Linked DNA regions of Homo sapiens: region 2 is linked to region 1. Evidence: promoter capture Hi-C in 16 types of primary human blood cells and fetal thymus (Javierre and others, 2016). All regions are on one chromosome and are shown on one strand. Each heading gives the region's core, a stretch centred on a gene start or on the middle of the fragment in contact. The rest is flanking DNA. Distances are from core to core; before and after follow the strand shown.

The links. The method cuts DNA at HindIII sites, captures the fragments that hold promoters and counts their contacts. A CHiCAGO score of 5 or more calls a contact.
Region 2: a contact is called between the fragment with the promoter of AKAP9 here and a fragment that was not itself captured in region 1, in 1 of 17 cell types (total CD8 T cells). The highest score is 5.7, in total CD8 T cells.

What each region holds. Positions count from the first base shown.
Region 1 is chr7:93,224,853-93,231,549 of GRCh38, forward strand. HEPACAM2 (HEPACAM family member 2) reads right to left here and starts at 1,617. Exons shown (of 10, transcript NM_001039372.4): 1 at 1,516-1,617. The coding sequence starts at 1,594. The HindIII fragment of the contact is 1,002 bases long and covers 3,667-4,668 here.
Region 2 is chr7:91,936,560-91,943,256 of GRCh38, forward strand. It overlaps AKAP9 (A-kinase anchoring protein 9), which reads left to right and starts at 4,303. Exons shown (of 50, transcript NM_005751.5): 1 at 4,303-4,588. The coding sequence starts at 4,541. LOC124901698 (a long non-coding RNA gene) reads right to left here and starts at 4,292. Exons shown (of 2, transcript XR_007060431.1): 1 at 4,105-4,292; 2 at 3,291-4,005. RefSeq lists enhancers at 3,844-4,405, 4,444-4,593 and a silencer at 4,134-4,243. The HindIII fragment of the contact is 23,233 bases long and covers 1-6,697 here.

The DNA of each region.
Region 1 (6,697 bases), core at 2,918-5,417:
TGTACAAACTGTACATTTTAGGCTTCAAATTTTTAAAAATTTTTTAAAAAGAAGAAGCAAACAAAACTTCAATATTCCTAAAAGCAAAGATTGCCAAGTCATCTGTGGTCTTTACAACACACTGCCTATGGAGAAAAGCAAATTTGCAGAAGAGAGAAGGTCTTAAGGTATAAAAACTGCTTTAGCTATTTATGAACATGCTATTTTCCTAATGTACATTTGTTTTATTTTAGTTGAATTCCTTAACTAAATTGTCTCTAAGTTCTTCTTAACGCCAGTTTCAAAAACAACACTTATAAAATGATAGTAGTCCTACTGTTTTAAATATAAAAATAAGTGGGATGATGACCCAGGATACTTTCAAAAGGAAGACAAATGCACAAAGGTAGTGACAGTTATAATAATTATTTACTTTTTCAAAAAATTTTAGAAAACAAAAATCTATTATAGGCTTAAATTTGATAACATAAATACTGTGATAACTGGAACAATCACAACTCTGGGAAACTCAAAGACTTAAAAAAATTTACAAACTGTACATTTCAAATGTGTGAGATAGGTACAACAGTAGGTATGAATTTGAATAATAACATTTACAATGCAAACTTTAACAAAATATAGGAGTGAAAGTAAAGCTCTAAATAGCTGAAGAAGCCTAAAAGTTAAATTGCTTATTTTGCTAAGCTGTTCTTAATTTTTAAAAAATGTAGCCTTAATTGAACTCCTATCTGTTGAATATAAACAAAACAAGAAATTGATTTGACTTTTAAAACTGATAAATAGGAAGAATGGAAATGAGAACATCTGGTGAAAATAATGTTGACAGACAGCAGTTGGAATGCTGGAAAGAGACTCCTTTAAACTCAAAAGATAAAGAGGAGAATGAGGGAAAATATTAAGGTAGAAAAAAATTCTTAATAGGACTAGCCATTGGGCAAAGAGAAAAGCTAAAGGCATTTTGGAGTAACAATCTTTTCAAATACGTTCTCCCTTTTGTGTAGGAAATTTTTTTGTTAGTTTGGAATCTTACCTTTCTTCCATATTTCATAAGATGAGACAGATAACTTAAAACGAAGCAGTAAACAGTTTGCAACAATATCTTTAATTAAAAAGAAAACAATTTTCGTAAATTATTTGTAGTTTCACTCTAAGTGGTCACAATTTCATGGCCTATTAGAATATTTGCTGAAATAAATGCATTAAAGACTATTGAACCTATATGTAAACTCTAAAAGAAGAAATTCATTATCTTTTAAAAATATCTGAATTATCTTAATGAGTGCTATGACAATAATTGTTGTTCCAAGAAAACAATAACAATCTATTTATTGAAACTCATTTCTCTTAAATGTTCCTGCTTCTTTGCTGTAACAGTGTGTTATTGTTAAAAGGTTCTGACCTGCTCTTCAATTATCTGAATGCATCTACAGCCTAAAGCAAATATTTACCTTATGTCCACAATTAAAAAAAAAAAACCTAACAAACAGCTAAAACACAATTCACACAGGGCCTTACCGAAGAGAAGGAGGTATATTTTGCACTGAAAGACCCCAAGTGTGTCACCGAAGGGCTCCATGAAAGCATCCTGTCCCATGCATGCAGTGCCCTGTTCTCAGTGGTAACTTGGACCAGCAGCTGCTGGTTTATTTGCTAGGGAAATTAGCAGTGAGGTAACAGACCCTATCTTGCCTCTTGCTTCTGTGATTTGAATACAGAATGAATGTGTATACAAAGGACACAGGGAGTGGGAACACCTGTTATGTGCTTAGCAAGAATACAGGCTTATGGCTTTCAGAAGAGTTTCTTAGCAACTACCAGTAATTGTCTATATATTTCATAAATTATACTTAGTTATTAAAAAATCACATGAAGGAAAACATCCTTTTGCGTGACTTTACTGAAAAATGGCATGTTTTCATAATGAAAGAATATTGTGAGATTTCCTTAAAAACAAAAGCTGGTTTTCTATCATGCAGAACTATGCCATTATTATTTTAAAATTAAAAAAAATTATATGAAAATTGAAGTAGCTCATGTATCTGCTAAACAGTTATAAATCTTCATGAAGTCACTAACATGTAAAAATTCTACCAATGAATCAAAAGAGAGATCCAGAATATATTTAAAACGTATTTTTTCTATGCAGTGTTTCCTATTACAATGACTGATTTCATTTAATCTTTGAATTCATCTTATTTTTAAAAGCAAATCACAGGTGTGTTTCCAACTGGGACTGAGGCATGGACCATGCATAATTATAATGAAAAGTGCATGCCAGGAGATAGTATCTGAGGCCACATTTTCACAGCTGATGCATAGAGGAAGTGAACCAATGATCTAGAAAAGATCTTACCTCTACTGCAGTGTCCAGGTTACAGGTTTTCAACCTGGTCTCTCCATTGTCATGGCAGCAGATAGTCTAAGCATGTCCGCTTAATTTACTAAGTTATTAGTTAACCCCTATTTGCAAGAAGGCTCTGGTTCTAGCCTTGTTATATAAAATGTTAAGGATATATCCAAATCTGCATCAAATCATCAAATCAAGGAAAATTCCTTGCATGCATCAGTTTTAACAGTAAAGGCCCACTGAAGAAGTTCAATGATAAGAGGGGAAGGAAGACTATACCTCAAGCATAATTAAAGTAAAAAAGGAATGATAGTAACTTTGGAATCCAAGTTTGGAAACACTCTTTGCATTAGGGCTCTGAACTCTTCTAGAAGGACTTCTATAAGCAAAGAAAGTAAGTGACTATTGGGAAAACGAAGTCCTCTTCAGAGATCAGTCACTTTCAGATCCCTCCATGCTTCAGAAAAATGGCAAGAGCTCCTCATGCTTCCCCCACCTCCCTGCAAAATAATAACAATGCCACAACTTTCTCTGCACTGTCTCTAAATCTGGTACACACATCTATTGCAGCACTTATCTCCTTAATCTTTATTTTATTGGATGTTTATTTTCCCTCTGAGCTCTCGAATACAGAGAATAATCTTATTCATTCATGGATGTTGGGCACGTAGCATAATGCTTAACTGGTATTTTTGTTAAGTTGTTTCTCCAGAAAACAAAACTCTAAGTGCTCCTTGGCCCGTCTTACGATTCTCAGTTGATGCGTAAGAAATACAAATAAATTTTAATATTGGATTGCACAAAATACAATTTGGAAAGTAATATGGAAGTTCTACAGATATCACATAGGTTCCCCCAACATCTTTTAGATTGATATTAATCTCCAATTGCCGTTATCAAATTAGCTGTTTTCAGTGTTTTTCAATCTAGTGCTGGATTATAATGAAGTTTGTTGGGTCCCTGGCAAAAAGAGAAATAAAGACAATGTACTGTGTTTTTCCCTAGTGTTAAATATACTCAATATAAAGGAGTTTTTTATTCTGAGATTTTCTTTGTTGTATTTGAAAATATTCCCTGTTTCATGACATAAGGTGATAGTAGATGCTACATTAAAAAATAAATGCCATATGAATCTTACTTGTAATCTTTTTATTTCATGGCACATATTGAAATATAATACGGCACATCTAGGGAAAGGGCTACTGGGATAATCATGACAAAGCGCCCTCTAGTGGTAAACTGTAGATATAAACTCTTACCTGCTGGAGTAACTTCTGATTTCAACATGTTTACACAGGAAGTGAGAAAAAGAGTGCTCAAGCTTAACTTCAACAATTGTTAATTTTTACATGATTCTTAAAAATAGTTTGAAGGTTTTATAATTATAAGAATTTTCCTACCATCCATATCTCACATCACACCTGTAACCCACTGGGAAGTTCTGCTGTTATCATTCCAGTCAGGAAAAAAGGGCCTGTAGTGTTACTGTTTACCAATCTTAGTTATATTTGCATTTAAAATGAGAAGGCTGATTAACCTAAAACAATCTATATCCACGGTGATTAAACTGCAAGCAATGTAAGGAGCCACTGGGATAGAGTATGCGTGTGTGTGTCCACGTGCATTTACAATGGGATATGGACACATATACTCCTGTGCAGGAGGGTGTGTGTGTGTGTGTGTGTGTGTATGTGTGTGTATGTTTGTTGGGGGCAGGGATTTTTATTACCTCTCAAATCACACTACACAGTTTACAATCTAGTTTATTTAAATTGCAGACTGGTATTACTTCATACAGTAAATGTCTGCTGCATGCATTTCAAACATCCACATTTTTAATCACAAGTAGCTAGCACACGCATGTTTTGCAGTGGCAGAAACAATTAAGGAGAGGTGGTGAAATGCCAAGGTCAATGTAGATGCAGAACAGTGGGGAATAAGAACTGGGGAAAGAAATGTTTCTTATTGTTGTAATTAGTGGATTCTCTCCAGTTTACAGGGAGAGTTAGCTGCCAGAGGAGGCTATCACATATGCCTATGCCTGTGCTAGTGTTCACTTCTGTAAAGTCTACAAAGCTGCCTCGTGGAAGCCTTGATCTATCTTATATGGCTGCTAAATACTAAGCAGTAATGTCTTCTTCCTGGGCACCTCTTTAGGTCACTACTTTACCTTTGGCAAGTGTTCTGTTTTCTGTTATGGCCTGCTCAAGAAGTGTAGTCATATCATCTTGGAGGGGCTGCATCTCTCCACTGCTTTGGTATTTGTGGAGTGGTAAGAAATTTTATCTTTCTAATCAAACCAGGATCTCAGCTTTTATTTAAGCTTCCAGACATTCCTCCTGTTTTGGGCCATTAGTAATATGCCCTTATCCTACTTTACTACTAATCCTATTGTTCTGAATCAGATCAATTTACTTAACTCTTGGCTCTGCACTCCTTTACCAAGGAATTGGTATCCAGCCAACCTTCCCCAGGATTTGGTGGCAGACCATCTAAACTTTCCATTATTTTGCACTGGACTATCACTAACAACAGCTCTCAGGTAAATGTGAAAGTCCTGAATAAATCTTAAAAATAAATACCTTTTTGAAAATTGGAAAGGAAATAGCAGCATGTCCAACCTTTTAAAAAGTGTTTGTTAGGATGCCAAGTTTTTTGTTTTTTTGAGCGTAGACAGATAGAAATGAATAACGTAAGGTTCAATTATTTCATATAGTGTTAAGGTATGCTGAATTAGAAAATATAGTTTATTTAGACACCAGCGCTGATTTACTTTACAAGCTTTCAATATTATAGTTATAGCCTTAAAACATTTAGAAGACTGTATCCATTTTTATCCATTTCTCCAGTTTGTAGGAAATAAACTAAAATGTAGAGTTTTGGAGTAAAACAAAGTTTCAATACTTTCTTGCGTTTTCAGTGTCGAATAGATAGGGATAACACTCATTTTTCTGAATTTGGCCAATAGAAATACACATATTAGATAAAAAAAACTTTTTGGGGGGATCATCTTTAACTTTGTGTATTTGAGTATGTGAGGGAGAAAATTCCGGGGTTGAATCTGGGTTCTAGTCCTAGATCAAGCTCTCATGAAATATGTGGTCTCGAACCCTTATACAGATACGTTTTCTCATCTTTACAGCATGGATTTGACATGCTAGAGCTGGACTGCCTTTAAGAATCACTGAAGATTTTAAACAAACAAACATCCCCAAAGAAAACAACAATAATAACAGCACACACCTCAGGTGAATCTGAACAGTCAGGTTTGAGATCTACTGAACTCAGATCACCCCTAAGATATGCTTTTAAACCCAGTTGTGAACTCCTTGTGACCACAACCATAGATTATTAATCAAAGTGCTTATTTTAGTGTTGCCTTGAGCGCAACAATCAAGAAATGTTTATTGACTTGGGTTTTATTTTATAGGCTAATATGGCTGGCAGTTTTTGTTTCTTTTGATGCTTTCAGGGACTTCTAAATATTGCAGATTTTCACACACAAAGAACAGTCTGACAATTAAGATTAGAGAAGGTAAAGAATAAACTAAACTAGACTTGCCCTAAATGTGACCAGAATTTCTTGAAGGGGTTAGAAATAACAGAGTCAGAGAAGCATATAGGTAAACATATAATTTCAAAGGAATTGCTGAACGCAGTGATGATACAAGTATGCACAAGGTGGTTCTGTTGGAGTAGAGAACTGGGCAGAATCAAAACCAATAATACCTCATAATTGTATAGTGCTTTACAATTTATACATTTCATTCACCTACATCATCTCACTTATCCTTACAAAGCCCTATATAAAATATTAAAATATTACAACCTCATTTGTAAAAATTAATAAAACGAGGCTCTAAGGGGTGAGAAAATAGAATTTCAGAATCAGAAATAACCTCTGTTAGTGTCCCCCAAACTTCAGTCATTTGCAAATCACCTTTATTAGTTTTGCCATATCTGACTACCACCCATACTATTGTTTACCTAGTATTTTTTATTACGTTGACACACTTGAACTTTTTTTATTCTAAGAAATATTTTTGAAATTATGGGTCTGTGTCATACTTTTAGAAGTTAACATTATAATAAAATAAACTTAAAAAAATTGGTGCCATGCTTTAGAACTTTCTTCAGCACAATACATGAAAATCTTAACACATCTGATGACCGATTAATCCTTCAGTTTCTACTTGCACATCTGCAGTAATCTTAGGCAAGTTCCTTAATTTCGCCATACCTGCTTCGTCATCTTTAAAATGGGAACCCACAGGATTCTTGTGTGGATAAATGAAATCATATATTTAAAGCTATTAGCAGTTCCTGACAGGTACTCGGCTTTCGATAAGT
Region 2 (6,697 bases), core at 3,053-5,552, 1.3 Mb before region 1:
TACTGCACTCCACCCTGGGCGACAGAGTGAGAACCTGTCTTAAAAAAAAAAAATCTTGTATTTAATCTCTCAGGGGAAATGAGTGTTGTGCGGTATTCTTACTATTGGAAGGCACATCAACACTAAAAGAAATGTAGCTTAATTAAATCATGAATTTTACAGATGTTATAAACAGAATCACTAGAATGTAACCCCAATAGAGGAGACCAATTAGATTTTATTTCCCTTTTCAATTCTGGTCCATTGGACATGACTGCCAGAGGCTCTTTATTGAGAAGGATACTGAAGCAGTGCTTGCACTCATTTGGAAATAATTAATGATTGATTTACAGTGCCTTCTATGGAAGCCTCCAGTGACCTTCACCTTGCTATATCCAATCCTCATTTTACGTGACCTATTAGTAGCAGTTGTCTTGGTTCATCACTCCCTCCTCCTTCACTTTCTTCGCTTGGCTACTGATTCCTTTCACATATCTAGCCACTGTTCTCAGTCTCATTTGCAGATTCTGCTCACCTTGCCTCCCTCTTAGAGTTGAAGTATTCCAAAACTCAGTCTTTGTAACACCTTTCTATCTAAACTTGCTCCTTAAAGCAGCATGGTCCAATAGAAAAATAATGTGAGCCACAAATGCAAGCCACATATGTAATTTGAAACTTTGTAGTAACTTCATTTAAAAAAAAAAGAAACTGGTGAAATTAATATATATTTTATTAAACCCAATAGGTCCCAAATATAATCATTTTAATAATATAAAAATAGTGCAATATTTTGTTATTTTATTTTAATATTAAGTCTTCCAAATCCAAAGTGTTACACTTACAGCACATCTCAATTCAGACTAGCTAATAGCTGTTGTATTGAATAGCATGGCCCTAGATTATCTCATCCAATTCCTTAACTTAAAATACCATCTACATCCTGAATACTGACTACTCTCACATTTCTATTTCTAGCTTGGACCTGTCTCCTGAATCCAGACTAACTGATGTCTTAGGGTGACATCAGTTCTTGGATGCCTAATGTGTATGTCTAAATTACCATGTCCAAAACTGAACACTTGGTCCCCAGATTTTCTCTTCTCCATTTTGGTTACTGGCAACTTCATCACTTCAGTTGCTCAAGCCAAAAATGTTGGAGTCAACCTTGACTTTTCTTTTTGTCTCAAACCTCATATCCAATATACAACTCCTATGATACTATTGGTTCTATGTTCAAAAGATATCCAGAATCTGATTCCATATCTTTTCCTCCACTACAGTACTATGGCCCAAATTCCCATTATCTGGGATTACTGAAATAACATCCAAACTGATCCCCCTTTCTCCTCATAGCAGCCAAATGTCCGTGAACAACATAAGCCAAATCATGTCATTCATCTGCTCAAAATTCTCCAATGGCTCCTAATCTTACCCAGAGTAAAAGCTGAAGTCCTTACAATGACCTTTAGAACTCTACAGGATCTGAAGCCGGGCATGGTGGATCACCTGTAACCCCAGCACTTTGGGAGGCTGAGGCGGGCGGATTGCTTGAGCTCAGGAGTTTCAGACCAGCCTGGGCAACATGGTGAAACCCTGCCTCTACAAAAAATACAAAAATAAGCTGGCTATGGCAGAGTGCGCCTGTGGCCCCAGCTACTCAGGAGGCTGACGTGGGAGGATTGCTTGAGCCCGGGAGGTTGCAGTGAGCCAAGATTGGGCCACTGCATTCAGCCTGGGTGACACAGTGAGGCTCCGTTTAAAAAAGAAAGAAAGAAAGAAAGAAAAGAACTCTACAGGATCTGGCCCCCTGTTACTTTTCTGACTTCATCTCCTACTATTTCCCTTGTTTATTCCACTCTAGCCACCCTCACCTCCTACTCTTCCTTGAGAAGGTCCATCATGGTCTCGCTTGAGGGCCTTTCTTTGGATTTGCTGTACCCTCAACTATCTCCGTGGCTCTCTACCCCCACCCACCACCTGCTTGTTTTTTGGGACAGTGTCACCTGTTGTCTAGGTCCTTACTCTAGAGTGCAGTGGCACAATCTGGGCTCACTGCTTTGGCCTCCCGGCCTCAAGTGATCCTCCCGCCTCAGGCTCTGGAGTAGCTAGGACTACAGGCTCCCGCCACCACACCCAGTATTTTATTTTTATTTATTTATTTATTTATTTTGTAGAGACAGGGTTTCGTCATGTTGCCCAGGCTGGTTTCGAACTCCTGAGCTTAAGCGATCCACCCCGCTCAGCCTCCCAAAGTGCTGGGATTACAGGCGTGCACCACCCCGCCCAGCCTCCTCATCTCTTTCAAGTCTTTGCTGAAATATCTTCTGAAAGAATCACCTGAGTAAGTGAATGACATGACATGAATTAATGATTGGTATGACAAGTTATGACAGAATAGGTGCCATAAGGAAGAGTCAGAACACTAGTGCCCAATGCTTGCTCTTCTAATAGAAGTTAACACAAATCTAACTTTCAACATTGATTGAGCACCCATTATGTAAACTAGACATGTATATGATTGGCTGCTATCAGTGAAGGAAACATTGAAATAATCTTGTTGCTTTGGAAGGTATTCTTGAACATTCTCAGCACCTACAAACAGCTGACTTATTTAGTCACCGAGAAAGCAGTATCCTTTAACAAACAGGAATAGCTTTGGATACCCTGGGGCTTCCCCCTCCTAGGCAATCAGCATCTACACTCATAATCCCTCAATCCAGGCAGTATTTAAATCACTGCACTATTAGAACACTTAGTTCTAGTCCTTACTCTTAATTTGATGGGTGACTAAGTAAATCACTTATTGCCTCAATTCTTTCATCCCTATGATAAAATGTCTAATTTTACCTGGTTCCTAATTCAGGTTGAGATAACAGGACAATATGCACTTGGCTGTTAGAAGTTGGCAGAATGTATGCATTACGGAGCTTAAGAAAAAAATCTTTTTTAAAGCTAAGATTTCTAAATGAGGGCTATTTAAAACTCATCTTCAGTTTGTGGTAGACTTAAGGTCTTTATTATCTCCTTTTTTGTTTTTTAACCTCAATTTTTCACTTAACACCACTTCTACGCTTGAACTCATTTTAGCCTATTTTTTGTTCACAACTGCTAGTTTTTCAGTCCAACCTAGCTCAAAGCAACGGAGAAACATGATAAATCTGAGTAATCAACCAGAGACATTAAAATGTGTAGTTCACTCCAGGAATGGATGTGAGCATTGGAGGGCAGGGAGACGAACACAAAGGACTGAGGGAGCACATGTCGGGGAAACAAGGAAAGATAGTAATGTTAAATTTATAAACACTGCTCAATTCAATCCAAAAAGCGTTTATTGAGTGCAGAGCTCTGTGCTGGTCATTTTAGTAAAGCCAAGATGAGCAAGACTTATGATGAGTCTCTGTCATCAAGGAGCTGGGAGTATGAGCTGAACTAAGACGCACACAAATTATTAAAATATGGTGCAGGGTACTTAAAGGAAGTCCAAGGAGAAATAAAGCTGACATTATTCAGGACGTTTTAATATGTCAGGGCAGTCACATATATTAACAACCCTTCCAAAAATTCCAGGTAGGCTCAGGGAGGATAGGTAACTTGTCATTAACGCTAGAAAGTTAGTGTAGTCTGGCATTGTCCCTAACCGAGGTTCTAAAGCTCAGGCTCCTTTCAGAACACTACTGTTAAAGGGAAGCCCCAAAGAGTCGGGGGAGGGGACTAAGTTTTGACTGGATGTGTCTCGGTTGCCGTGGAGGGAACAAGAGGTCAGAAAAGCCATTTGGAGGCAGCGTGTGCGATGGGACTATAAGGATGAACCGGAGATTGAGTGGGAACCAGTGGAGGGAAGAGGGAGGGACTTTTCAGGCTAAGGAAGTAATAAGAGCAATTAGCTGCTCTCATAATTCTTGAGTCAAGCAGTTAATGTAGGTAGAAAACCTGGCGTCCGCCCCCCCACCACCCCCCACCGGAACTTTTCCGTTGGAGCTTGTAGGTGTTCGCCAATTTCACCATTAGGTGTGTTAGTTTTGTAACCTGAAGGAAAAAAAAAACTCATGTTTTAATAGCAGTGGATTCCTCGGACGGAGGGTGGGGGTCAGGCCAGGAGCCTCTGGCACACTCCGTCTCTCCTACCCCTCAGCTCGGCCGCCACCTGTGAGCCGTTGATGTGCGGGAAGGGCGCTCTCTACGGCGGGATCCTCGCTGGTAGGAGGCAGGTCCCAGGCCTGGCAAGGGTTGACCCCGGAGGGCTGGGCCGGGGCGGCACCCCAGGAGCACCTGCCCACGAGGCGGCTGCGCGGACAGACGTTCCAGCCCCTCCCGCCTCGCCGTGTGTTTACGTGGAGACGAAGATGGCGGCGGCGGCGGCGGTGACGGCGCTTCCCGTGCGGCTGAGGACGATCCGCCAGTGAGCGCGGAGACTGCTTCCACTTCGGGCGGGGGAGCGCCGGACCGAATCGGCTCTCTAGGCCGTGGAGCTTGCCGTCCCACCTCCGTCCAAATCGACCTTTCCTTTCTATCCCCAACCACCCCTCAACCCCTGTTTTCCCCTGCCTTCCTTGCAGAGGCCATGGAGGACGAGGAGAGACAGAAGAAGCTGGAGGCCGGCAAAGCCAAGGTAGGAGAGCCCGAGGCAACCGGGCCTGCGGTGGGAGGCGGTGGCTAGCACGGGGTGGGAGGGGGCCTGGGAAGCGGAGTTCGCCGCAGCCCCAGTGCACTGCCCGAGAGGGAGGTGCTGCAGGGTCTTAGGGTCTGCATCTCTCCTCGCCCTCCTCCTTTCCCCTTTTTCCAGTTGGGGGACAAAGCCTTGTGCTAGCTGATAATACTTCCGCGAGGATTGAATATTGTGGCTCCTTTCTCGTGAATGTCCAAATAAAACTCCCCTTTTACTGTATTGCTGTAAACTAGTGTTTAGTTGCTTCTAAACCTCCGATCTTTCATTTTTTTAAGGAGTTTTCTGGGTGGTGCAGGCATTGTGCTTTCCAGGGTGGGGATTTAGGGCTTTTCTTTATTGGGTTGGGGATTTGTGCGCTGATCATCAGCTTGTCTTCCTTAGGTAGCACGCTGGCACTCTTGGGTGTGTGTGATTGGCCTGTGACAGCTGTCTCAGCAGTGGCTTGTGTGTGCCACAAGTGCCAGCTGTGAACTTGGCTTTAGGGGCGTTTTTAGAAGCGTGTCTTTGTATGTTTGTACTTGAAGGTCTTTGTCATGGCATGCGCTTTTGTGTCCTATGGAATGTTAATGCAGTCTGTGAATGGAACTTCTGAGGACCGAAAGGTTCCATATGCCAACACCTATAGAATTCCTGCTTTAAATAATTTAGTTGTTATATATCTCTCTGGCGAATCCTGGTTGTGTGTGTGTGTGTGTGTGTGTGTGTGTGAACGGTTATGGAAAAGCCTGTAAAGCAAACAATACAATACACAATTATACACAGGCATCGTTCATTGGGCTTCATGAGAAATTTAACATATACAGAATATAAGCTGCGTAGCATATTTCTTTTAAAAATTACATATTTGAGCATATATTTTGTCTGGGCTCAAAAGCCCCCTTCCTCCCTTCAATGAAGTCTTCTTTTATGGATTATATTATTTTTAGAGATAATTGTTAGCAGTCATACTTGGACAAAAATTGTATTACAGGTAACTGTTTTTCCTCTCTTCCTTTCTCTTCTCCTCACATAAACAAAGGAAACCAGGTTAGTGATTTATTATCAATGAAGGGCCATACCGCAGAGATGCAGTGATAGAAGCTCAACACAAGTTTGTTAAATGAATATATATATAAAAACTAGCTTCATATTTCTAAAATATAGTTGACTTTCCTATAAGCTCCCTCTATTTAAGATCAAGGTTTAAATGCTTGTATATAGCCAGGTAAATTTTTACTTTCGAATCTATAAATGGTGGGAAAGGGGAATCAGGGTATCTTTAGAAGTCCAAAGCCTACACTTGTGCAATCTGAGGGGCTGAGCAAGCTCTATGCATCTACGGAAGTAGTGGAGGTGAAGTGTGTGCCCCTCCAAAAGCATTGAAGATCTGATTAGATGTCTTACTTGTCTGTTACCTCACAATTTTTATTGCCTGCCCCCAGAAATGTCTTTCCTGAATATATGTGAAGCAGTCCTACAAAACATGGTTTACTTTGGACATACACATTTCATAATAGAGGATTTATTTAAATTGCTTGCAGTTGTAGTTGATGTGGCAAAATACAATTCTAGTTTCTTTGTGTGTTTCTTTATCTTTCAGAATTCTATGTATGGGGTAAAAACCTGTTTAAGGTGAATTTTTGTTGTAAAAGATTATCTTCTTTTAGAATTTAGCCCTTTTTCCAGTAAGATATAAATCTATGAGACTTGTAAGGCAAGGTGTGTTTGCTGCAACATTAGCTATACAATATAAAAATGCTGACATTGGGAGCCTGGGGCGAGAGGATTGCTTGACACCAGGAGTTCAAGACCAACCTGGGCAACATAGTGAGACTCTACAAAAAATTAAATAAAAAAAAAAAATAGCAGGGCATGGTGGTGTGCGCCTGTATGTAGTCCTAGCTACTCAGGAGTCTGAGGTGGGAGGATCACTTGAGCCCAGGAGTTCGAGGCTGCAGTGAGCTATCATCATGCTACTGCACTCCAGCCTGGGCAACAGAATGAGATCCTGTTTCAGAAAACAAACAAACAAAAAAAAACCCCTGGAAATAACTTTTAAAGACAACACGAAGG